4 separate regions of the Homo sapiens genome follow, and regions 2, 3 and 4 are each linked to region 1. Evidence: promoter capture Hi-C in human tissues and cell types (Jung and others, 2019). All regions are on one chromosome and are shown on one strand. The core of a region is centred on a gene start or on the middle of the fragment in contact, and the rest is flanking DNA. Distances in the headings are between cores, read along the strand shown.

What was found. The method cuts DNA at HindIII sites, captures the fragments that hold promoters and counts their contacts. A contact is called where the count stands out against the background at its distance.
Region 2: a contact is called between the fragment with the promoter of GTF2I here and the fragment with the promoter of CLIP2 in region 1, in 1 of the 25 tissues and cell types used here (spleen).
Region 3: a contact is called between a fragment that was not itself captured here and the fragment with the promoter of CLIP2 in region 1, in 1 of the 25 tissues and cell types used here (heart right ventricle).
Region 4: a contact is called between a fragment that was not itself captured here and the fragment with the promoter of CLIP2 in region 1, in 2 of the 25 tissues and cell types used here (dorsolateral prefrontal cortex and lymphoblastoid cells).

Annotation. Positions count from the first base shown.
Region 1 is chr7:74,286,148-74,292,411 of GRCh38, reverse strand. It overlaps CLIP2 (CAP-Gly domain containing linker protein 2), which reads right to left and starts at 3,005. Exons shown (of 17, transcript NM_003388.5): 1 at 2,678-3,005. It overlaps LOC107986742 (a long non-coding RNA gene), which reads left to right and starts at 3,105. Exons shown (of 2, transcript XR_001745024.2): 1 at 3,105-3,350. RefSeq lists enhancers at 1,363-2,006, 2,007-2,651 and silencers at 2,527-2,596, 2,617-3,086. The HindIII fragment of the contact is 6,317 bases long and covers 1-5,878 here.
Region 2 is chr7:74,654,691-74,660,954 of GRCh38, reverse strand. GTF2I (general transcription factor IIi) reads right to left here and starts at 3,237. Exons shown (of 35, transcript NM_032999.4): 1 at 2,887-3,237. RefSeq lists enhancers at 668-807, 1,078-1,307, 3,258-3,307, 3,328-3,447 and silencers at 2,078-2,597, 2,668-2,957, 2,978-3,157, 3,528-3,687. The HindIII fragment of the contact is 40,491 bases long and covers 1-6,264 here.
Region 3 is chr7:74,582,805-74,589,068 of GRCh38, reverse strand. The region is part of intron 22 of GTF2IRD1 (GTF2I repeat domain containing 1); the gene reads right to left. Among named protein-coding and RNA genes, the nearest start is that of MIR10525, 10 kb to the left of the region's middle. RefSeq lists enhancers at 986-1,145, 1,166-1,215, 695-1,281, 1,282-1,869. The HindIII fragment of the contact is 6,527 bases long and covers 1-6,264 here.
Region 4 is chr7:74,551,879-74,558,142 of GRCh38, reverse strand. GTF2IRD1 (GTF2I repeat domain containing 1) reads right to left here. Exons shown (of 27, transcript NM_005685.4): 18 at 2,920-2,969; 19 at 2,649-2,705; 20 at 421-504. Among named protein-coding and RNA genes, the nearest start is that of WBSCR23, 22 kb to the right of the region's middle. The HindIII fragment of the contact is 4,062 bases long and covers 819-4,880 here.

The DNA.
Region 1 (6,264 bases), core at 1,756-4,255:
CTGTCTCAAAAAAGCTCAGAACAATTCTCCACAAAGTAAGCACTTAATATATACTTTTTTTTTCAACCTGCACAAAAGCTGAAGTTCTCACAAGAACCAATGAGCAGGGAATCTGAGGGTCACAAATGCAGCTTCCCTCCCCTGTGTATGGAAGTGGAGGTAGAGCAGGTGGTGTCAAGAGGGCAGAACTGGCTGGGTGCAGTGGCTCACGCCTGTAATACCAGCACTTTGGGAGCCTGAGGCAGGTGGATCACCTGAGGTCAGGAGTTCAAAACCAGCCTGGCCAACATGGTGAAACCCCGTCTCTACTAAAAATACTAAAATTAGCCGGACATGGTGGCACATGCCTGTAATCCCAACTACTTGGGAGGCTGAGGCAGAATTGCTTGAACCCAGGAGGCAGAGGTTACAGTGAGCCAAGATCGCGCCATTGCACTCAAGTCTGGGCAACAAGAGTGAAACTCCATTTCAAAAAAAAAAAAAAAAAAGAGGGCAGGATCAACTGTCAGGGTGGCAGGGCCAGGAGGGGAGGCCAAGAGGGAACTGGGGGACCACACGTGGGCAGGCCTGCCAGGTGGGGAGCAGGGACAACTGGGGCTGTGGGGAGATGGCCTTTCTATCACCAAGGGAGGCAGGACCAGGGAGGAGGCTGCAGTGAGGCAGAGAACAGCAGGTGCCGGGTCAGGGCTAACCAGCAAGGGTGCTGAAGAAGGACAAACAGCCTGGAAGGGGCACGAGCCTCCTCTCCCTGAAACGTGTGTGAGTGGGGCCAGGAAGCCACTCTGTACGGCAGCAACAACACTTATAGGACATCTACTCTGTCACAGGGCACACAGTTCTCCTAACAACCCTAAAAGCCAGATACCATAAGGATCCCAATTTTACAGATGAGGATGTCGAGGCAGAGAGAGATGCAATGTGCAAGGTCACATAGCTAGGGAGTGGCAGAGCTGGGATTTGAACCCGGGCTGTTAAGCTCCAGCATCTGAACTCTTCACCGCCAAGGTAGACAGCAGATGCCGGAAAGCGATTACTGCTCCTTGGAGTAAATTCCCCCTGCTGGGACTTTGGGCTCTGAGTGCAGAATTCCAGGCACCACCTTCCCAGCCTGCACGGTGCTGAGGGCTGGAGTTTGCAGGTGCACACAGGTGTGTGTGGAGGAGGCTCCTCCCAGGCGCCTCCACCTGCCTCTTCTGCCTTTGGAGCCCCTCTCCATCTCCACCGCCTCCACCTGTCCTGAAGCCAGAATCCCATCATTCCCCCGCAAGGCACTGCAGACAAGAATGCATCCTGTGCTCAACGCAGGTCTAAGTTCCTTAAATCCTAAGCTGTTTCTCTAACCCAATAGCCTCCTTTTCTGACTCCAAGCCCTTATTCACGCTATTTCTCCTGCACGAAACCCCCTTCAGGCAACCTGGCAGCAAACTTCTGCAAGATGCTCTATGAAGCTTCCTGGTCTGCCCCATCCTCCAGGGGACCCCCTCTATGCCCCCAGCTTCCCCACTAATGCACTCATCAACCCCCGGGGCTGCACTTTTTGGGGACACCGAGGCTGCTGTCCTGTGGACCAGCCAGCCCCTAGAAGTGCCAGGCCAGGTAACAGCAGCTGAATGAAGGGCTTATTGTTTACATTTACAACCGAAAGGGAAGAGGCTTCTGAAGCACACACGTGGTGCTCCCCGCACCCTCCTCCTCCTCTGCCCACAGCCCTAGGCCACCCCACCCACCTCCCTCAGGCATCGCGCAAGAGTGACGGCAGACCCCCTCATCCCAGACCCCCACTTCTCACCCAGAAGTGAGAGGAGGGGTCTCAGACGTTGGGGGACACACTGCTGGGTGGGTGATTTCCCCCCAAGGTGCTCCCTCTGCCCGTCCTTCCCAGGGTGGGGCTGGGGCCTGCGTGGCAGTGCCCAGTGGGCACCCGCTCGGCCCAAGCTCTGCCTGAAAGGTCCAAACGGGCGGGCCCTGAAGGTTCAGCCAAGCATCCTCCGCGGCCGCCGCCCCTCCCCGGGAGGAGGGCAGAAAATCTGCTGCCTCACCAGCCACCAGCGCCAGCTTGGGGGGACACCCCCTGAGAGAAGCCGCCCGCCTCAATCTCCTCCTACCCCACCTCAGCCAAGCACTTCAACCAAGTTTTGCAAAGGCCATCGGCCAGGCGACCCCAGAGGGTGTAGCAGGGAGGAGAGGGGGGCAGTCCCTGTTCTCCCAGACCCCAGGTTTGGAGATGGGGGCTGCATGGCCGCGCCCACCAGGCTGTGCTCCCCAGGCTCTGTGAGCCCAGAGAGCCCTGCGGCGCGTCCAGCCGTCTTGCTCTGCCCTTGGAAGGGGGTACGGGCGACCCTCCAACAGAAGGGCCAAACCCCCGTCCGAGGGTAGGGACCCCGATGAGGCTGGTGATGCCTTCAACAGGGGGACCCGCAGCCCGGGAATAGCCCCCAACCCTGGCACCCCAAGCAGTGCCCCCTCCTCTCCTACAAGCAACGGGGAAGTTGGGGCACACCCCAGCCAGCTCCCGCCCACGCCCACCGGCCGGCCTCGAACCCTCCCGCCCCCGCCCACGCCCCGACAATGCCTCCGGGCCCGCAGCCCCGCTTTCGGCCAGGCCGCCGCCCCCCGCATCTCTCCGTCCTTTGTTGCCCGCGCGACCCCCTCCCTCGGCCCCTCCAGCAGCCCCTACCTTCGTCCTTCCAGCATCAGGCTAAGCGGCGGGAGGCCCGGAGAGCCCCGGCCTCCTCCTCTCGGGCCCGGGCGCGCTGGGGGGCGAGGATGCTGCGGCCCCTCCCTGCGCGGCGCTGCCCACCGGCTGCACCCCCTCCTGGCGCCGGGGATCCCCGCGATAGGTGCTCAGGGCCCGGGCCTCGCGCCACGTCTCTGGGAAGGCGGGAGGCGCGCACCGAGGCCGCCCAGCAGCCGCCTGCGCGCCCCGCGGCCGAGCCGAGCTGAGCGCCCGCGGAGCCAGCGGAGCCAGCGGAGCCAGCGGCCCGGCTCCGGGAGGGAACAAAAGGGGCCGGCGCAGGGGCGGGCGCGGGAGGGCGGGGCCTGGGGCGGGCGGGAGGGGGGGGCGGGTCAGGCGCGCGTGGGCGGCCTCGCGGTTTTCAGGCCTCAGTGCCTCGCGGAAAGCAGGCGGGCGGGCGGAAAACGCGGAGCAACCTCTTCCCCCTCTCCCCGCTCCATCTCCTTCCCTTCCCAGGCCGCAGCTGTCCTTTGTGGGGCGTCCAGGGTTCGCCCACATCCACCTCCGCGCTGGGCACCTGGTGGTGCTTACATCGCGTTTGGTGAAACGCATCCTCCAGCCATGCTATGCTTGCAAAGATGTCTCTGGTCATTGGGAAGGACGGCAGCTTGGGAAGGTGAGATGCTGTTGGCGCTGGACAGAAAGGATGAGGAGGGGGACAGTGCAGCTGGGGCGAAAACTTCAGGTCTGTGTTGGGGCCAGCGTGGGTGGGGAACTGTGGCACAGGGTCTCATGGTTATCAAGGATCTCATAGCCTGGGCAGTGTCTCACGCCTGTAATCCCAGCACTTCAGGAAGCCAAGGCGTGCAGATCGCCTGAGGCCAAGAGTCCGAGAACAACCTGGGCAACGTAACCTTCGTCTCTACAAAAAATACAAAAATTAGCTGGGCGCGCGCCTGCGGTCCCAGCTACTGGGGAGGCTGGGGTGGGAGGATCGCTGGAGCCCAGGAGGTCGAGGCTGCAGTGAGTCATGATCAAGCCACGGCCCTTCAGCCTGGGTGACAGAGCGAGACTCCGTCCCAAAAGAAAAAAAAAAAAGGATCTCATGGTGATCAGCTTCCAAGATACAAATGAACCCTCCCCAGGACAGGATGCATGTACTGCTATTTCAGAGGAGTTGAGGCAGCTGCCAGGTCCCCTCCTGCGTGGAGAGGCAGATGCCAAGTGACAGCTCAGGAACTAAACAGTGACCAAGCCCCAGCCCCTGTCCATGCCCAGGCTGCGGTTGGCTTCTGTGGCTTGGTTTCCCTCTGTCCCCCCTTGATAAGCTCGCCTGGATGCCTTTGACCTAGCTGGCCGTTCTACCAGTCCTGCCCTGCCCCCTTTCTCTGTTTGACAAATCATATTCCCCCTTCAAAGCACAGCTTAAATGTCCCTGCTTTTCCCTTGAGTGCAGGAATGTGGGTGTTGGGGGAGGTTGTGGTCTGTATGGTGAGACCACTGTTCTGCGGGAGAGAAGTGCCACATACGATCTTGTTCCTATCCCCTAAGGGACCCAGTGCAATGCTTGGCAGAGGGTAGACATCCAGTAATATTTGTTGAATGAATGAATGAACTTACTAAGTTAACATTACCACCCCTCAACTGTCTTGGTATCCATAATCTTTGAGAAGTGAGTGAACCTTTTTTTAGAGAAGGGGTCTCACTCTGTCACCCAGGCTGGAGTGCAGTGGTGTGATTACAGCTCACTGCAGCCTCAAACTCCCAGGCTCAAATGATCCTCCTGCCTCAGCCTCCAGAGTAGCTGGGACTACGGGCATGCACCATGCCCGGCTAATTTTTTGTGTTTTTTATAGAGATGGGGTCTCATTATGTTGGGGTCCAGGCTGGTCTTAAACTCTTGGCTTCAGATGATCTTCCCACCTCAGCCTCCCAAAGTGCTGGGATTACAGCTGTGAGCCACCGTGCCTGGCCTAAACATTTTGACCTCAGTTTCCCCATCTGTAAATTGGGGAGAGTGTTTCAATTCAGTTCAGCGAACATGCAATGCTGTAATGATGGAGGCTGGGCATGGGGTCAGCCCTGAGGGGGTGCCCAGTTGGTGTGGAGAGCCAGACTTGGAGACTAATAAGGGAGGAGGTTCAGAGTGAACTCCAGAAAGACTGGGCTTCTGTAGGAGGTGTGAACCCATAGGGAGGGAGGGGACTCAGGGTGGAGAGGGCAGTGTTCAGGAAACAGGGAGCTAATTGTTCCTTGTGGCTGGGATGCATAACCTGTATATCAACAGTTATAAACCAGCCAGGCACAGTGGCTCACACCTGTAATCCCAGCACTTTAGGAGGTGGTGGCGGGCAGATAACCTGAGGTCAGGAGTGCGAGACCAGCCTGGCCAACGTGATGAAACCCCATCTCTACAGAAGATGCAAAAAATAGCTGGGTGTGGTGGTACATGCCTGTAATCCCAGCTACTCGGGAGGGTGAAGCTTGAGAATGGCTTGAACCCAGAAGGCGAAGGTTGCAGTGAGTGGAGATCATACCACTACACTCCAGCCTGGGCAACAGAAGGGATGGGATGGGATGGGACGGGACGGGACGGGATGGGGCAGGGATTTGCCAAGGTGACATGGGTCTTGCTGGGATGTACCTGAGCTCACCAGCCCCTGCCCAGCAGATCTAGCCTCCCACATGTGCCTCAGGAGGTAGGCAGGGGCCCCCAACCTTCACAGGTACTGCCTCCCTCACTGATGGCCCCCAGTATTATTCAGAGCAACAGCCTGCGGTCAACAGACCTTACCTGGCCGCTGGTGAGTGGAGCTTCAAAGAGCAAGTCACCTGAGAGGGACACCTTTTGTTCTTGCTCCAGATGAGAGAAGACAGGCTTCTGTCTTGTTACAGTTTGCATTTGGGGGGCCGGGCACAGTGGCTCACACCTGTAATCCCAGCACTTTGGGAGGCCAAGGCGGGCGGATCACAAGGTCAGGAGTTCGAGACCAGCCTGGCCAACATGGTGAAACTCCGTCTCTACTTAAAATACAAAAAATTAGCCGGGCATGGTGGCACACACCTGTAATCCCAACTACTTGGGAGGCTGAGGCAGGAGAATCACTTGAACCCGGGAGGCGGAGGTTGCAGTGAGCTGAGATCGCACCATTGCACTCCAGCCTGGGCAACAAGAGCAAGACTTTGTCTCAAAAAAAAAAAAAAAAAAAAGTTTGCGTTCGAGTTTTTCTGCTTCTTTCAGTAGATGAACCTGATGCTGTCTGATGTGAGGGTTGGGGTCCTGGCCTTGGCCCCTGCCCTGGCATCAGGCCTCCGTGATGGGTGGGGAGGCAGGCGGGGGGATCTGGAGGGGGTGTTCTCCCAGCCGACCTCTCACCCAGGCCTTTTGTCTCCACTGAAACTGCTGATTTGGTCATTTTCTTGCTGACGCCGGCTGTGACCAGCAGCCTCACGGGAGGATTTTTCATGGGAAGAGAGAGTTGGGAATAATTTTCGAGCCAGAGCTGAATTCTCTGAGGCCTGCAATGGGCCAGCCACGGGAGAGGCCTGGGCTGCTTTGCAGGTGGCGATCTCTCTGGTATACTATTTAT
Region 2 (6,264 bases), core at 1,988-4,487, 370 kb before region 1:
CTCAAATGTAAGCAGCATTGCTACCACCGGCAAGGCACGAGGACGATGCCAAACTGGAGGGGGAAGTGGAGGGAGAAAGACATAGGAGGAAAAGGCTTCTTGTCCCTGCCCCTACGAGCTCAACACCCAGTGACTAGGCCAGATGCAGAGGAAAGTAAAAGTGCCCTTAGCCGGGCGTGGTGGAGCGCTCCTGTAATCCCAGCTACTCAGGAGTCTGAAGCAGGAGAATCGCTTGAACCCGGGAGGCGGAGGTTGCAGTGAGCCGAGATCGCGCCACTGCACTCCAGCCTGGGCAACGAGAGCGAAACTCCGCTTCCGAAAAAAAAAAAAAAAGAAAAGAAAAGAAAAAGGAAAAGGAAAAAAAAGAGAGAAAATAAAGGTGCCCTGCGAGGAAGGGCACACAAGTTGATTGGGAGACTAAGAAGGAACAAACTCTGACTATGCAATATAAGAGAAGACCACAGGCCGGGAGCGGTGGCTCACGCCTGTAATCCCAGCACTTTCGGAGACCGAGGCAGGCGGATCACCTGAAGTCAGGAGTTCAAGACCAGCCTGACAAACATGGCGAAACACCGTCTCTATTAAAAATACAAATATTAGCGGGGCTTGGGGGCAGGCGCCTGTAATCCCAGCTACTCGGGGGAGACTGAGGCAGGAAAATCGCTTGAACCCGGGAGGTGGAGGTTGCAGTGAGCGAAGATCGCGCCACTGCACTCCAGCCTGGGGGGATAGAACGAAACCCTCTCAACAACAGCAGCAAAAAAAAAAAAAAAAGAGAAGACCTTAAGGAAGTGGCTGCATATGAGCAAGAAAGATTTCCATAGGCTGAAAAATGTCATTCCAGCCAAAAGACCAAGATCTCAAGGAGGAGGAGAAACGAAAGCCAAGGTAGCAGCCACAGAAAAATCCTGTAGCAGGAAATAAAATCGGTCATCCCACACCACAGGCCTCAGCCTGGGGAGAAGACCCCGCCTCCGCAGGGCACTCTACCTGCACGTTCTCATTTGCAAACTAACTTCCCCTTTTGTTCCCTGAAGGACTGGAGACTTCTCCTCTGCACTGTTGGCTGATCAAGCCATTGTCTGCGGCAAAGTTGAATTTAAAAGAGATGAGGCCCAGCGTGGTGGCTCAAGCCTGTACTCCCACCACTTTGGGAGGCCTAAACGGGAGGATCACCAGAGTCCAGGAGTTCCCGACCAGCCTAGGCAACACAAGAAGACCCCATCTCTAAAAAAAAATTTTAAATTAGCCAGGCGTGACCCAGGGCGGTGGCTCACGCCTGTAATCCCAGCACTTTGGTGGCAGGCCGAGGCGGGCCGATTGCTTTCAGCTTGATTCAAGAGTTGGAGACCAGCCTGGCCAACATGGTGAAACGCCATCTCTACTAAAAATACAAAAATTAGCCGGGCGTGGTGGGCACGCCTGTAATCCCAGCTACTCAGGAGGCTGAGGCAGGAGAACGGCTTGAACCCGGGAGGCAGAGGTTGCAGTGAGCCGAGATCACACCAGTGCACTTCAGCCTGGGCCACAGAGTGAGACTCCATCTCAAAAAAAAAAAAATTAGCAGGGCATGATGGCATGCGCCTGTAGTCCCAGCCACTGAGGAGGCTGAGGCAGGAGGATCGCTGGAGCCCAGGTGTTGGAGGCTGCAATGTGCTATGATTGTGCCACTCTGCGCTTCAGCCAGGGCAACACAGAGAGACCCTGTTTCTAAAAAAAAAAAAGAAAATTAAGCCGAAAGCGATGGCTCACACCTGTAATCCCAGCACTATGGGGGGCCAAGGTGGGAGGATCGCTTGAGCCTAGGAGTTCAAGACCAGCCTGGGCAACAAAGTGAGAACGCATCTCCACAAATAATTTTTTTTAAAAAAAGGAGGTCAGTAGTCAGCAAGAGCTGCGCATCGCCAAGAGTGGACACTACTCCAACAGCACCCCACCTGTGAACATCCCCAGCCGCAAATCAGCGCAAATCCATAACCTAGGGAGGACAAAATTCGCTACACGAAAAAGCAAAAGCTGGATTAAGAAAAAGTGGAGAAGTCGGGGAGCGGGAAGGAGACAGCTTTTTCCATTTCATTTTCCTTCTTCCTCTGCACTCCCGTCGTCTGGGTGCTGGCTGAACCCAGACGGCTTAATTTTCATGGCCTAAAGCTGAAGTTTTCCTTCCGGTCATTGTGTTTATTTCCCCCAAAGAACAGGCCCCGCGGGGCAGGCGCGCCGGGCCGGCCCGGGACAAAGCCCACTGCGGACTCCACCTGGGAGCGGGGCGGGGCGGGGGACAGCGCTCCCGCTCCCCCGCCCGCCGCAGTTACCAGGCAACGCGCGGCCCCGCCCCCGCGCCGGTTGGCCAATCCCGCGCGTCTGCTGCCCCGGCGCAGGAGCCCCAGATACACCAGGCGAGCGCGACCCCACGACGGCTCGGGCCTGGCACCGCGCGCGCCCCCGCACCGCCTAGCCGGCCAATCAGCGCGGCGGGGCATGCGCAGCCCGCAGGGCCGCTCGCTCGCTCGCGCGCGGGATCGCACGCGCGAGGCGCCCCCCCACCGCACGCCGGTCGGCGCGCGCGCCCCTCCCCCACGCGCACTGAGGCGCGCGCGTGCCACTGTCGTCCCCCGCGACCGCGTCCGTGCCGCCCCACCCCCATCGCCTCGTTTCGGCCACTGCCAAGGCCGGCGGGGCTCGAGACCCGGCGAGGCGGTGGGGGTGGGGGTAGGGGGAGGCGGCACGGGCGCCCCCCAAGGCCCCACACCGCGCGCGGCGGGCCGCGGCTCCCAGGCCCCTGTCCCTGCAGGCCCCGGCGGGGCAAAGTCTCTAATAAAGGCCCCCGCTCGCAATGGCCCCCGAGGCGGGGGCGGGGGGCGCGGGGATGAGGCGAGAGGGACTCACCCGAGTGCGGCCGCCTCCAGGCAGCTCCGGGGCCGGGGGTGCCGAGGGGAGGCGAGTGTGGGCCGCGCGCGGGCTGCGGCCGCCGCGGAGCAGCCTCGGCTGAGGGGAGCTGGCGAGCGGACGGGAGGCGAGAGGGGGCGAGGGGCCCGTGCGTGTCGGTCGCGCTCCTGTCACCGCCGCATGGCCGCCCCGCAGGCAGGGCCTCGCTCAGCGCCTTGATCCGATCACTGGGGGACAGAGGCAGAGGCCGGGGTGACCGCGGCAGGCGGGCGGCCGCGGCTGGAGAGCGCGTGCGGGGAAGCGGGGGGGCGACCGGTGGCCCCTTTTCTCTGCTCTCCCAGCTTCTCTCTCACCCTCCTCCTCCTCCTCCTTTTTTTTTTCTTTTTTTTCTTTTTTTTTTTTTTTTTTTTTTTTTTTGTTCCTCGAAGGCGCGTTGCGCCTGCGCATCCGCAGCGCCGCCCAGCGGGAGTTGTAGTTTCGGATGCGTTCCCCGTCAACGCGGCGGCGGCGGTCGTGGACTACAACTCCCAGGAAGCACCGCGCCGGCTAGCCCCGAACCCGAGGACGAGGCAAGCGCGGCGCCCGGCCCTCTCCAGCAAGGGCTGTCAATGGAGGCGAGGGTGGTGGGAGCGAGAACATGGCTGCACCTGGGGCCTGCGCGGCCGCCCGGGTGGGGGAGGGGAGCCGGGGTGCAGAAACGGAAATCTGGACGGGTGGTGGCTCCGGCGTCGTCCCCACCGAGCGCCAGCCGCCGTCCAAGTCCGCCACTTGCTCTTGCACCCCACATTCCTTGCAAATTGCGAGGCAGGGAAGCTGCAAAAGCCGGGGAGCCCCGGGCTGGGCCGTCGCCCTCCTTGCTCTGCAAAAGGGGAGTCCTTCCGCCTTGCACCACCCTCCAGGACACAAAGAACTCCTCTCTAGTGTTTTCCAAGCTGGCCTCCAAAGAGACCGTTGCCCCCAAGTTCGGACAGGCGAGAGGGGAGGAGACCTTGTGTTTTAATTCCTCCCCCAGACCCTCCGCCTCTATCTCTCCCTCAGGATTTGGAAGGAAACTTGCAAGGGAGTGGGAGCAGAAATCCTGACTCGTAGCTCCTGTTTTGTTCTGTCAACCGCGATGCGATTTAACTCAAACTCCTCCCCCTACCACTATTTTTTGCTTCTCAACTTGAATTAGCCGGTGGGTTTTGAAAATGGAGAGACATTACTGTTCACCTAAGTTAAACTCCAAAACTTTACAACCCCGAGGCCGACGATTTTTAGATGTTTATGTAAAGCACGAGATTGAGTGGTTTTTTGATTCCCGCCCGCCCCCCCACCCAGTACCACCCACTGGGGATTCGGGCCACGACGGCCATCCTCCCCCCACCCGCCGCTTCTCGGTAGGTGGCGACCACGACGCTTTTTCCAGCCTCCAAGCCTTTGTCGCTAGCGAGAAAACTTTCCGAGCAGCCAGTCTTTTGATGTGGGTTCCAAAAACCTTTCCTTTCAATCTGGGTTCTCCGATTGGCATTCCCCATCGTCTCTCTTGCACAGACCGCACCCAATAAAGCCTCCTCTAGAATTTTCATGTTGGATTTTTTTTGAAAAATACATGGAGAGCGTAAAGCTCACCGGAGAAGCAATCTGATTACAGAAGCCTGAATTTTTGCGATTTCCCGGACAATGTCTAGGATCCCTTCGGTCCTTGCCTAATAAGATTGTGACTCTCCTTTGTCGATTGTCTCGAAAGTCATTCATTAAGTTTGCACAAGAGCAACTTTCTTTTTGCACTTGTATTTCATTGACATTTAGTAATATTTAATTAAATTCTCTATTCCCAATACCACGTGCCACTGGCATATATTTAGGAACAAATTTAACTCTTGAGAAGCCTATAACTCACTCTAGTAAGAGCAGCCAGCCTACGAGATGCAGATTTCAGCTGCTGTGGACTTCAGTGAGTATCTTTTGTTGAGAGAGTGGTTTCTCCACCTGGAGGGGTCAGGGAAAGGATTTCCTGGGTATAGTGGAGTCGTGGAGTAGAATTTGGGGGGATGTTACAAAGTGAGTTAGCAAGGCAGAAGTTTATTTAGCCAAGATGACTCTTATCATCGTGAAAACGTTTGGAAGGTAGTTCCTTTCTTCTATGAATTTGTTTAGTGGTTCACAGTGGAATTTTTTTTTTGAGACCGAGCCTCGCTCCGTCACCCACGCTGGAGTGCAGTGGCGCGATCTCGGCTCACGGCAACGTCTACCTCCCGGGTTCAAGTGATTCTCCTGCCTCAGCTTCCTGAGTAGCTAGGATTATAGGCGTGCACTACCACGCCCAGCTAATTTTTGTATTTTTAGTAGAGACGGGTTTCTACTAAACATGTTGCCCAGACTGTTCTCGAACTCCTGACCTCAAGTGATCTGCCTTCCTCAGCCTCCCAAAGTGCTGAGATTACAGGCGTGAGCACCGCACCGGGCCCACAGTGGAATTTTGCTGCCTCTTCATAAACAACTCCAACTTCTTTGAGACTGAAGCAATTCCTAAAACGGTTAGGTCAACATGAGCTGGTTTTGAATTACCTCTAGTCAGAAAGCTGTCTCTGTTGAGGCAATGTGTATGCAGACAAAGCGTTTTTCTGAGCATTTTGCCATTAAGGTTTGTAACCCTCAAATTCATGTGTTACAGTCATAAAGATCTTGCGTGTTCTGTCTTCATTAAGGTCTGGCTCACTGCGGCTTGTTGGAACACTTGTCAACCAATTTCTCCTTCATCTTAGTGGCATAGATACTACATTAATTGTGGCCATTGTTATAAATCACTTTGGATACTATCTCTCTGCAAAGCTGGGGTTTTGTTTTACTTTTTTTTTTTCCTGTTTTTGAGACAGGGTCTTACTGTATCACCCAGGCTGCACTGCAGTGGTTCGATCACAGCTCACTGCAGCCTCCAACTCCAGATTCAAGCCATCCTCCCACCTTAGCCTCCCAAATGCCTGGGACAACATGTATGTGCCACCACACCCAGCTAATTTCGTTTTTTGTAGAGACGGGTCTCACTATGTTGCCCAGGCTGGTCTTGACTTCTTGGGCTCAAATAAGCCTCCTGCCGTGGCCTCCAAAGTGCTGCGATTACAGGCATGAGGCACTGCACTGGGCCCAGGTTTTTTTTCAAATGTAGGATCAGATTACTGTTTTGGGGATTGGGCAACAGAAGAAAAATAATAGTTGATTTGTGTCTAAAAATGATGTAGTAGGAAGTCCTCCTTTATTTTATTTATTGATTTTTTTGGGAGGGGACGGGGTCTTACTCCGGTGCCCAGGCTGGAGTGCATGGTGCGATCTTGGCTCACTGCAACCTCCAACTCCTGGGCTCAAGCGATTCTGCTGCCTCAGCCTCCCGAGTAGCTG
Region 3 (6,264 bases), core at 1,957-4,456, 300 kb before region 1:
CACATTTTTTTATCAGTGTCCCCAGCACAGGCCCTGTGTTGGGCACAAAACAACCTAAAGAGAAGAGGCAGGGCTGCTTCCCTGAGGGGCTCCCAGCCAGAGGGGGTGTCATCTGGTCACTAAAGTACAACAGGACACACTTAGGAGACAAGGGGCATGAATGAGGGTGCCCACCCTCTGTGGGCAAGTCTGGGGAGACCTCCCCCAAGAGAGAAGGATGCTTGAATGGGCTCTCAAGGCCTGACATGGTGGCTCATGCCTATAATCCCAGCACTTTGGGAGGCAGAGGCAGGCAGATTACTTGAGGCCAGGAGTTCGAGACCATTCTGGCCAACATGGTGAAACCCCGTCTGTACTAAAAATACAAAAAGATTAGCTGGGCATGTGGCGGGCACCTGTAGTCCCAGCTACTCAGGAGGGTGAGGTAGGAGAATCACTTGAGCCTGGAAGGTGGAGGTTGCAGTGAGCAGAGATCACGTCACTGCAGTCCAGCCCGGGAGACAGAGACCTGTCTCAAACAAAAATGAAAACAAACAAACAAACAAAAAATGGGCTCCAAAAAGGCAGGTAGGAGTTTGTGAAGGACGGAGTGGCAGTGGGAAGCCACCAGGACAGAAGGACCAGCCATGCATAGGCACTCAAGCGTGAAAGATCTTGTGTTGGCTGGGTGCGGTGGCTCACGCCTGTAACCCCAGCACTGAGGGAGGCTGAGATTGGCAGATCACCAGAGGTCAGGAGTTTGAGACCACCCTGGCCAACATAGCGAAACCCCGTCTCTACTAAAAATACAAAAATTAGCCGAGTGTGGTGGCGGGCACCTGTAATCCCAACTACTCAAGAGATTGAGACAGGAGAACTGCTTGAACCCAGGAGGCGGAGGTTGCAGTGAGCTGAGATCGCGCCACTGCACTCCAGCCTGGGCAACAAGAGCGAAACTCCGTCTCAAAAAAAAAAAAAAAAAAGAAAAGAAAAGAAAAAAAGAAAAAGATCCCATGTCCTGGAAGTGGCTGAACTTTGGGGTGGTACAGGGGAGATGACTGATGGGCCTAGTGGGGTCCATGCACAGGGGCCGGTGTCACTGTGCTGGGCTGTTGGAAATCCCCTGACCGCTCGCTGACCAAGGTCTGTGAATGGGAAACAGACCGTGTCTGGGAGTGTGGGGGCCGTGCATTCTCCCTGCTCACTGCCCAGGTAACCGTCACGGCCTATCTGCTGCTTGAGCCCTGGTGTGCTCTGCTCTCCCCTCCCTGTAGCCTAGAGGAGCTGCTGGAGTCAGTTAGCCCTGGAGATGGGGCCTGAGCTGGGCTGTAAGGCTGAGTGGGGGTTGGGCTGGAGATGGGGTCTGGGGCAGAGCTCTGCAGCAGCCTGTGGGCTTGTGCCAGGGTTGAGGACGGGGCTGGGATTGCAGGAAGGGTGGTTTGCATGTCCAACAGGAAATCTCCTCTCTGAGAAGCGTGGGGTCACATGGGCTGGGCCTCTTGGGGCAGGCGGGTTCGGTAAGGGTGAGATGTTGTGGGGTGGAGCTAGACGCAGGCAGGGAGCCAGGGCCGGATGATTCAGGGCAGAGCAGACTGATGGGTCTTTGGAGCAAAATGACTCCTGTTTTTTTTTCTTTTTGTTTTTCCAAGACAGAGTCTCACTCTGTTGCCCAGGCTGGAGTGCAGTGGCACGGTCTCGGTTCGCTGCAACCTCTGCCTCCCAGGTTCAAGCCATTCTCCTGCGTCAGCCTCCTGAGAGCTGGGACTACAGGCGCCTGCCACAACGTCCGGTTAATTTTTGTATATTTAGTAGAGATGGGGTTTTGCCATATTGGCCAGGGTGGTCTCAAACTCCTGAGCTCAGGTGATCTGCCTGCCTCGGTCTCCCAAAGTGCTGGGATTACAGGCGTGAGCCACTGTGCCCAGCCTGACTCCTGTTTTTTGAGACAGGGTCTCACCCTGTTTCCCAGGTTGGAGTACAGTGGTGCCATCATAGCTCACTGCAGCCTTGAACTCTTTGGCTCAAGCAATCCTCCCCACTCAGCCTCTCAAGTAGCTGGGGCTCCAGGCATGAATCACCATGCCAGACTAAGTTTTTTTAAAATTTTTTGTAGAGAGAGTCTCTCTCTGTTGCACAGGCTGTTCTCGAACTCCTAAGCTCAAGCGATCCTCCTGTCCGCAGCCTCCGAAAGTGCTGGGATTACAGTTGTGAGCCACTGTGTCTGGCTCTTTTAATCTTGAAAACTCTGGGAAGAGCTCACTTCTGTTTAGGAGGCTGCCTTGGGAACTGCATCTCCTGGCGTGGTGCTCTGTGCTGCTTAGAGTCTGCTGACCCCGTCTGGGTGGCTTGGCCTCCCGTGCGCAAGCTGCCAGAATGGAGGCCCTGTTCCCCATGTGGGGGTTGCCCCAAAGAGCAGGGAGCTTCCCACAGGACAGAGGCTGGGCACCTGCTTGGCCTGGTTCCTCCTTTTCCCAGGGCTCCAACACCCACCACCTCAGGTCCTCCCAAACCCTGCAGGTCCCTGGCCTGGTCCGTCCACACCCACACTCAGCAATCTCTGCACATCTCTGAGTTGCTGATCTGTCTTCAGGCACGGCCCGCCAGCCCCCCTGCGTGCCCAGAGACACTGCAAACATCAGCCATTCCAGACAACGTCCTCCTCCCGTGTCCCTATCTCGTGGAGTAATGCCTCTAATTCAGCCACACAAAGACCCCACGCTCCACATCCCCTAGAACCCTCGTCTTCTCCTGTGACCCAACACGGGCCTTCCTTTCAGGACTAGGATGTGGGAAGAATCAAGGCCACCCTTGTCCAAATCCATGCAGACAACAGTGATGGAGTCCTGGGCCCAAGGACCAGCTCCTAGAGCCTGCAGGGAAGCAACAGCACATTCCATCTGTCCCCATGCCACTGAGGAATCTTTGGTGGCAGGATTCTCAGCAGGCATGGCCATGCATGCACAGAACAGAGAAAGGATGGCCTGGATCACACACATCACTGTGTGCAGATGCTTTCCTAGACACTGCAGCCAAAGACACAGAGGCTCAGAGAGGTAAAGAAACTTGCCCAAGGTCACACAGCCTCTAAGCACCAGGAGTACTCTGTGTCAACCCCAAAGCCCTGGTCTTTCCACTCTACCATGAGCCCTGGGTTTCCTGAGGTCTCAGATTCCTCTACAGTTTCTTTCTTTTTCTTTTTTTTTTTGGAAGAGTCTTGCTCTGTCACCCAGGCTGGACTGGAGTGCAGTGGTGCGATCTTGGCTCACTGCAACCTCTGCCTGCTGGGTTCAAGTGATTCTCCTGCCTCAGCCTCTCGAGTATCTGGGATTACAGGCACCCACCATCACACCTGGCTGATTTTTGTATTTTTAGTAGAGATGGGGTTTCACCATGTTACTCAGGCTGGTCTCCAACTCCTGGCCTCAGGTGATTCGCCCACCTCGGCCTCCCAAAGTGCTGGGATTACAGACGTGAACCACCATGCCCAGGCTCCCCTACAGTAGCTGTAGAAAGAAGGCTTAATCTTTAAGATAGTTTCCTCTAATCTGTTGCTCTCAGCCCACAATGCCACACCTCTGTCTTCTCCTGTGTCGGGACAGAGCGAGACTCAAAGTCAGAGCTCTACGAAACCTGCAGGACAGAAAGAAGCTTAGCAGGCCTCTCAAAGACGAGGCCCAGACCGGGCACGGTGACTCACGCCTATAATCCCAGCACTCTCAGAGGCCGAGGCAGGTGGATCACTTGAGGTCAGGAGTTCCAGACCAGCCTGGCCAACATGGTGAAACCCCGTCTCTACTAAAAATACAAAAAATTAGCTGGGCGTGGTGGTGCATGCCTGTAATCCCAGTTACTCAGGAGGCTGAAGCAGGAGAATCCCTTGAACTGGGAGGTGGAGGTTGCAGTGAGCTGAGATTGCGCCACTGCACTCCAGCCTAGGCGACAGAGCAAGACTCCGTCTCAAAAAAAAAAAAAAAAAAAACACCAAACAGGCTGGGCGCGGTGGCTCACATCTGTAATCCCAGCACTTTGGGAGGCCGAGGTGGGTGGATCACCTGAGCTCAGAAGTTCGAGACCAGCCTGTCCAACGTGGTGAAACCCCGTCTCAACTAAAAGTACAAAATTTAGCCAGGCGTGGTGGCAGGTGCCTGTAATCCCAGCTACTCCGGGGGCGGAGGCAGGAGAATCGCTTAAACCTGGGAGGCGGAGGTTACAGAGAGCCAAGATCGCGCCATCGTACTCCAGCCTGGGGGACAAGAGCGAGACTTCATCTCAAAACAACAACAACACACAAAAAACCCAAACAAACAAAAAACATGGGACCCCAAACTTACTATGCCAAAGGGAAATGTTAAGCTTGGGAACTGAGTCACGCAATAGCCTTTTGTTCCTAAACAGATGGCTGCAAGATAGAAGGCCACCTAGCTCCCCTGGTGGCCTCCCTCACCCTGGCCATGTAAATTCACAGCTTATCTTCACAGGCAGGGGACAAAGATAAGAATAGAAATCATTGCTCTGTCTACCCAAGACAAATGCCTATATGACTTCCTCTACTCTATTTACTTTATCTTATGTAAAAGGCAGATTTACTGAGCACAGGATAAATACATCATTAACTATTCCTCTTCCCCCTTTATTTTTTTATTTTTCGAGACAGAGTCTCCCTGTTTTCCAGGCTGGAGTGCAGTGGCATGATTTTGGCTCACTGCAACCTCCGCCTACCGGGTTCGAGTGATTCTCGTGCCTCAGCCTCCAGAGTAGCTGGGATTACAGGTACCCGCCACCACACCTGGCTAATTTTTTGTATTTTTAGTAGAGATGGGGTTTTGTTATGCTGCCCAGGCCAGTCTCGAACTCCTGACCTCAGGTGATCCACCTGGCTTGGCCTCCCAAAGTGCTGTGAGCCACCGTACCCAGGCCCTCTTTCCCCTTTAAATACCAAAGTCCTCAAAACTCTGGAAAAAAGCACAGGCCACAGACCCTATTGCAGCTTGAGTCTCTTTTTCCTGGCTGTGTCCTCCCCCATGGCAAAATAAATCTTTAAATTGATTGAGACCTGTTTCAGGCACTTTTGGTTTACATGGCCCACGGGGGTCTATAGCAGGGATCCTGACCCAGCTGGGAGTCAGGGAGGACTTCCCAGAGGAGGTGACCACCACACGGGGCCCAAAGCTCCAAGGATGTGGGCTCATCTGCACGCTGGGGCTCATCACACGGACCTCCAAGGCAGTTGTGAGCGGTGAGTAAGACACAAGGAAACTTGTAGTATCCTGTGATTTCAGGTGCTCAACATGCTTTAGCCAATCAGGAAACTTCCCCTCTTCCTTCCAAGTCTTGCCTGGTCTGGGAAGAAGTGCAACCCTAAACCAGGCTGCAGCTAACCAGGAGTGACACTACGGGGCAGTCGATAGGATACTATGGCAATTCTATATGGGGCACAGGTCCCAGGCGGTGGACCAGAAGTGGTGGGAGTGTGCATGTCAGGAAAGTGGGGCCGGGCTGGCTGAGGGGGCTGGCAGTTTGGGGAGGCGTCCTGACCACCTCTGGAGTGTGGGAGGGGTGGAGTGGGGCTAAATGCCTTTGTCAATAACACCAAGAACTGGCCGGATGTAGTGGCTCACGCCTGTAATCCCAGCAATTTGGGAGACTGAGGCCACGAGTTTGCAACCAGCCTGGGCAACATGGCAAGACCCTGTCTCCACAAAAAAAAAAAAAAAAAAAGAAAAAAAAAGAAAAATTAGCTGGGCATGGTGGTGTGTGCCTGTAATCCCAGATACTTGGGAGGCTGAGGTGGGAGGATTGCTTGAGCCTGGAAGGTCAATGTTGCAGTAAGCCATGATTGCCCCACTGCACTCCAGCCTGGGTGACTGAGCTAGATCCTGTTTCAAACAAACAACCAAACAAAAATTAAAAAATAAAAAACAAGCTTGGCACATACTACGTGCAGACACTGTGCAAGGCCCACAATATACCTTGTCTGTGGGATTCTCTAGCTCAGTCAACATCAAGCTCAGGAAGAACACTGATTTTTCTCTGTAGCTGTTCTTGCATTTTCCTACCTCTTTCTTTTTATTTAATTTAGAGTAAAGAGAATTACGTGGTTTTTTTTTTTTGGTAGAGACAGGGTCTTGCTGTCATTCAGGCTGGAGTGCAGTAGCTGGGACTACAGGTGTGGGCTACCACACCCAGCTAATTTTTCCATCTTTTGTAGAGATGGGATCTTGCTATGTTGCCCAGGCTACATTTTTTTAAATCGTGAGTTTTTGAAGGAAATGGAGTAGGGGAGGC
Region 4 (6,264 bases), core at 1,600-4,099, 270 kb before region 1:
TGCACCTGGCTAATTTCTTTTTTGTGTTTTTGGTAGAGATGGGGTTTTGCCATGTTGCCCAGGCTGGCCTCGAACTCCTGAGCTCAAGTGATCCACCTGCCTCAGCCTCCAAAAGTGCTGGGATTACAGGCAGGAGCCACTGTGCCGGGCCCTTGTCTATTAAATTCTGTGTGTAGTTCTTGAAAGTGTATCTCACCTCATTGGTCTGCAAGGCTCATGAGTACAGGGACTGTGTCTGTTTTATTCACAGCAATATCCCCAGTGCCTGAGACAGTGCCTGGCACGTAGTATATGCTCAAGAAATACATGTAAAGGGGTGAATTGTTTCCCCAGAAATGCCCTCGGCTGGAACTGGGAAGCCTCCCACTTCTCTGTGCACAGCAGCTGCGTGTCCCTCCCCGGGGGTTCTGCACTGCTTACCGTATTTCTTATTGAAAAGGTCCTGGACCTGCTCCCTTAGTGTGTTGGCGATGTCGATCCGTGAGAGCCTCGCGTCATAATTTTCTGCAAAGCGCAAAACGATTATGGGTTTGGGCTGTTGAGTGAAAAAGCACTTGGTGACTTTTAAGGAAGATGATTTTCTAATTATGGGGAACTCCTTCTCCGGCAATTAAAGGATCTTTGGAGTGGGCCCCTCAGGTCCTTCAGCACCGACATGTTGATGGAGATGTCTTTTTTTCAGAAGGACATGCACTGTTGCCACAACAGTGATGAGTTGGAAATTAAGTTAATTGATGACATTTGAAAACCACCAAACCAATAAATAAGCCCCGGAGGGGAGGGACACCATAGAGTACGGAGTCCTGTGCCCTGGGCTGGCAGGCAGGGGGCGGGGGCTTCATGAAGTCACTAGGGGGCTGGAGACAAGCGAGGGAATGGAAGCCCAGCTGATCTAGCAGATGGAGGAGGATGGGCAGTCCCCACAGACACAGGGGATGGGCCTGGCGGCTCCCAATGGAACCTCCACCTCCCAGGCTCAGGCGATTCTCCTGCTTCAGCCTTCTGAGTAGCTGGGACCACAGGCGTGCACCACCGCACCTGGCTAATTTCTTTTTTGTGTTTTTGGTAGAGATGGGGTTTCGCCATGTTGCCCAGGCTGGCCTCGAACCCCCAAGCTCAAGTGATCTGCCTGCCTCAGCCTCCAAAAGTGCTGGGATTACAGGCATGAGCCACCAAGACACCCTCACCCAGAAAGTGTTCATTAAAAACGCCCAAGTGTGACCGGGCGCGGCGGCTCATGCCTGTAACCCCAGCATTTTGGGAAGCTGAGGCAGGAGGATCACCTGAGGGCAGGAGTTGGAAACCAGCCTGGCCAATGTGGTGAAACCCTATCTCTACTAAAAATACAAAAATTAGCCAGGCATGGTGGTGCGTACCTGTAATCCCAGCTACTTGGGAGGCTGAGGCAAGAGAACCCCTTGAACCTGGGAGGTGGAGGTTGTAGTGAGCCAAGATCGCACCACTGCACTCCAGCCTGGGTGACAGAGCAAGACTCTGTCTCAAAAAAAAAAAAAAAAAAAAAGCTGGGTGCAGTGGTTCATGCCTGTAATCCCAACACTTTGGGAGGCTGAGGTGGGCAGATCATCTGAGGTCAGGAGCTCGAGACCAGCCTGTCCAACATGGTGAAACCCCGTCTCTACTAAAAAATACAAAAATTAGCCGGGTGTGGTGGCACGTGCCTATAATCCCAGCTACTTGGGAGCCTGAGGCAGGAGAATTGCTTGAACCCGGGAAGCGGAGGTTGCAGTGGGCTGAGATCACGCCATTGCACTCCAGCCTGGGCAACAAGAGTAAAACTCCATCCAAACAAACAAACAAAGACAAGTGCCAGCATGTGCTGGAGGGATCCCAGACCACCATCTCTCTCTCTCTCTCTCTTTCTTTTTTTTTTGAGACAGGGTCTTGCTCTGTCACCCAGGCTGGAGTGCAGTGGCATGATCTCGGCTCACTGCAATCTCCGCCTCCCAGGTTCAAGCGATTCTCCCGCCTTAGCCTCCCTAGTAGCTGGGATCACAGGTGCACGCCACCTCGCCCAACTAATTCTTGTATTTTTTTGGTAGACACGGGGTTTCACCATGTTGGCCAGGCTGGTCTTGAACTCCTGGCCTCAAGTGATCCACCTGCCTCGGCCGCCCAAAGTGCTGGGATTACAGGCGTGAGCCACTGCACTCGGCCTCTGATTTCTTTTCTTAAAAATAGACATAGAGACGGGTTCTATGTTGTCCAGGCTTGTCTCGAGCTCCCAGCCTCAAGCGATCCTCCCACCTTGACCTTCCCAAGTGCTGAGATTACAGGCGTGAGGTGCCGCGTCTGGCTCCTATTCTGATTTCAAAGCACTAAGACCACAGCTGATTGCTGAAAAAGGAGTGGGCGTGTCAGCTACCTCTGGGGGGTGGGGCAGGGAGGGGGCAGGCAGGCTCCTGGGCTCCCCCGACCGTCCACCTGTAGGCACCCCCTCTCCCCTGGAGTCTCTAACACAGAGCTGGCAGGGTACAGCCGGGCCTGGGCTGCCAACCTGGCTTGCCTGGTCCCTTAGGCCCTGAAGTTGGGGGCCAGCTCCTCCCCACTTCCAGCCTGGCCCTCCAAACCCAAACCAGGTCAATGTCCTGGTGCTGGGACAACAGACCTCCCCGTGAGCTCAACCTTACCTTGAAAGCCCTGTCTCTTCAGGCTCTCGTCCACCAGAGGGTCCCCGGAATCCCTCTCTGGGGGCAGGGCAGGGGGAGAGAAGCCAAGTGAGGAGGCAGTTCCTGGGACCCAAGATGGCATCGTTAGGGGAAACCCAATGTGGGGGTGTGGGGAGAATGCCAGGGCCAGGATGGGAGCAGGACAGAGGCAGCAGGAGGAGGGGCTGGTGGCAGAGGCCTGGGGCCCTCCCTTGCCCGCCCACACCATGGCTCCCGACCCCGCGCTGGGTACCTTGACTATCCATGATGGGCTCTTTGACTCCCTCAGTGAGCAGCTCGGGCCTGGAAAACACAAGCGAGGCTATCACAGAGGTCCCTCCAAGCATCTCTGGGACTGCTCAGCCCTCCTCTCTGGGCCTCAGTCTACACAGCCCTGCAATGGACCCTTCTGGCTATGCATAGTTCAGGCCTGGAGTCCCTGCCGCCCCACATGTGGAATCTGGGGGGCTGCGCTGGGCTTGAAGGATCCAGCTGGGAGTGAGACCCCCCCCAGTCCTGAACAGGTCCATCTGATATCTCACTCCTGCTCCAGGGACATTGCACGATTGTCACTGCCTGGGATTGGAGCAGGTGGCCTCAGGTGGCCTCCCGTGGAGCTGGTTTAAAGTGTAGAAACAAGGTCAGGTGCAGTAGCTCACGCCTGTAATCCCAGCATTTTGGGAGGCCGAGGAGGGCAGATCACTTGAGGTCAGGAGTCTGAGACCAGCCTGGCCAACATGGTGAAACCCGTCTCTACTAAAAATACAAAAATTAGCCAGGTGTGGTGGCAGGTGCCTATAATCCCAGCTACTTGGGAGGCTGAGGGAGGGGAATGGCTTGAACCCAGGAGGCAGAGGTTGCAGTGAACTGAGATAGCACCACTGCACTCCAGCCTGGGTGACAGAGTAAGACTCCGTCTCAAAATGAAAGAAAAGAGTAGAAACAGTCGGGGCCCACTACGAAGCAAGAACTCCAAGCTTCTGGAAAGGTCTGAGATCTACGGCTCACGTCTGAGAGCTGCTGTGTTACTGCAGTCGGAAGCACCAGTGACCAAGCCCAGCTCTGTATTATGCTAATGTCTTTAGCTCCACAGACTCCAGAAAGCCCTGTCCAGACATGAGTCAACCTTCTTTGTCATACAGCACTGCTTCTGAAGGCCCCATCTTCAGCACAACTTGTCCTGTTAGAGCAAGCCTGTTGTGGGGCTGGGGTTTGTGGTGGGTAGAGGACACTGGGAAAATCATGCTGGCCAGAAGGGGGCTGTCGGGGGATGGCAGGGTAGGCCATGGAGCAGAGAGGTAATGAGCTCTCTGGAGAGGTAATGGGCCTGGAGAGGTAATGAGCTCTCTGTCACAGGGGTAATCAAGCAGCAACTCCGAGGAGTCTCTGCCTGGGAGTGAGCCCAAAGGCCAAACTCTCAGGGAGGGCACCCCTGGGGTCCCCAGTAGATGAGGATTTGGTGCCCGCTCTGGCGGTGGGCATCTCTTAGGCTTCTGTACAGTGCCAGGCACAGAGCTGGGGTCACGGGGCCAGGGCTGGGAGGGGAAGCATAGCCCTGCCTTGAACCACAGTCTCAGGAGCTAGAAAAGGCTTCGGACTGCATTTAGGCCCCTCCTCTTTATGGGAGAACTCAGGTTCTGAAAGGGGAAGTGACTTCCCAGCAGTAAACTTAGAGAGGCAGAAGCTGGGCAGAGCCCCTGAGTCCCAGGCCAGAGTAGCGACAGTGCTTCCCCTTAAATAGCACAGCCGGCTGCCAAGGCCACAGGGAGTAACAGGAGGAGCTGGCCTCAAACCCACCAGACGGCCTCTCCCGTCGGCCACTGCACTGACCTGTCTCCCTTTCCAAATGACAGGTGGAGAAAGCCATCGTGACTTTAAAAAGTGCTCAAGGCTGGGCATGGTGGCTCAACCTGTAATCCCAGCACTTTGGGAGGCTGAGGCAGGGGCATCGCTTTGAGCCCAGGAGTTGGAGACCAGCTTGGGCAACATAGCGAGACCCCTTCTCTACAAAAAATGTAAAAATTAGCCAGGTGTGGTGGCGTGCCCCTGCAGTCCCAGCTACTCAGGAGGCTGAAGCAGGATTGCTTGAGCCCAGGAGTTTAAGGCTGCAGTGAGTTATGATTGTGCCACTACACTCCAGCCTGGGCTAAAGAAAGACTTGTCTCTTAAAACAAATGCTCATGGCCAGGCATGGTGGCTCACGCCTGTAATCCCAGTTACTCGGGAGGCTGAGGCAGGAGAATCGTTTAAACCTGGAAGGTGGAGGCTACAGTGAGCCGAGACAGCACCACTGTACTCCAGCCTGGAGTGAGACTCTGTCTCAAAAAAAACCCACAAAAGGCCAGGCATGGTGGCTCACGCCTCTAATCCCAGCACTTTGGGAGGTCAAGGTGGATGGATCACTTAAGGTTAGGAGTTCGAGACCAGCCTGACCAACATGGTGAAACACCGTCTCTACTAAAAATACAAAATTTAGCCAGGTGTAGTGACATGCGCCTGTTATCCCAGCTACTCAGGAGGCTGAGGCCGGGGAATCGCTGGAACCCGGGAGGCGGAGGTTGCAGTAAGCTGAGATGGTGCCACTGCACTCCAGCCTGGGCAATAGAGTGAGTGAGACTCTGTCTCAAAAAATAGAAAACAAACAAACAACAACAAAAAAACCAACCCACAAAAAACAAAAAACCAATGCTCATGAGCACAAGGTGTCTCTGCACAAAGCCATAAAAAATGTCATTCATGAGGACTTGCTGTTGAATTGGCACCTGACCTCAAGCTGCCCGGGTGCCCCTAGTTTATGGTTTGAGGGAATAGGCATAGAAAGCAAAAACAAAAATAAAAACAAACCAGAATGAGACACTGTCTCTTAAGACTTTTTAAAAAATAAAATAAAATTCAAACTCTTTAAGCTGGCCCAAAATCCATGTGATCTGGCTCCTGCTACCTTTTTATTTATTTATTTTGAGAGAGAGTTTTGCTCTTGTCGCCCAGGCTGGAGTGCAGGGGCGCGATCTCAGCTCACTGCAACCTCTGTCTCCTGGGTTTAAGCAATTCTCCTGCCTCAGTCTCCTGAGTAGCTGGAATTACAGGACCCCCTCACCATGCCTGGCTAATTTTTGAATTTTTAGAAATGGGGTGTCACCATGTTGGGCAGGCTGGTCTCGAACTTCTGACCTCAGGTGATACACCCTCCTCAACCCCCACAAAGTGCTGGGATTACAGGCGTGAGCCACCTCTCCTGGCCTATTTTTCTTTTTTATAGAGATAGGGTCTCACCATGTTGCCTAGGCTGGTCACAAACTCCTGAGCTCAAGCAATCCTCCTGCCTCAGCCTCCCAAAATGCTAGGATTACAGGCGTGGGCCACACGCCTGGTCCCCTGCTACCTCTTGGGCCTCAACCTCACCATCCTTCCCTCACTCACCCTGTACCAGCTGCAAGGGCACCTTGCAAGCTTTCAAACACCCAAGCACGTTGTTGCCTCAGGGACTTTGCATGACTTTTTCTCTGTCCCAACAGTCTTTATTTTTATTTATTTATTTTTTGAGACAGAGTCTCCCTCTGTCACCCAGGCTGAAGTGCAATGGCACAATCTCGGCTCA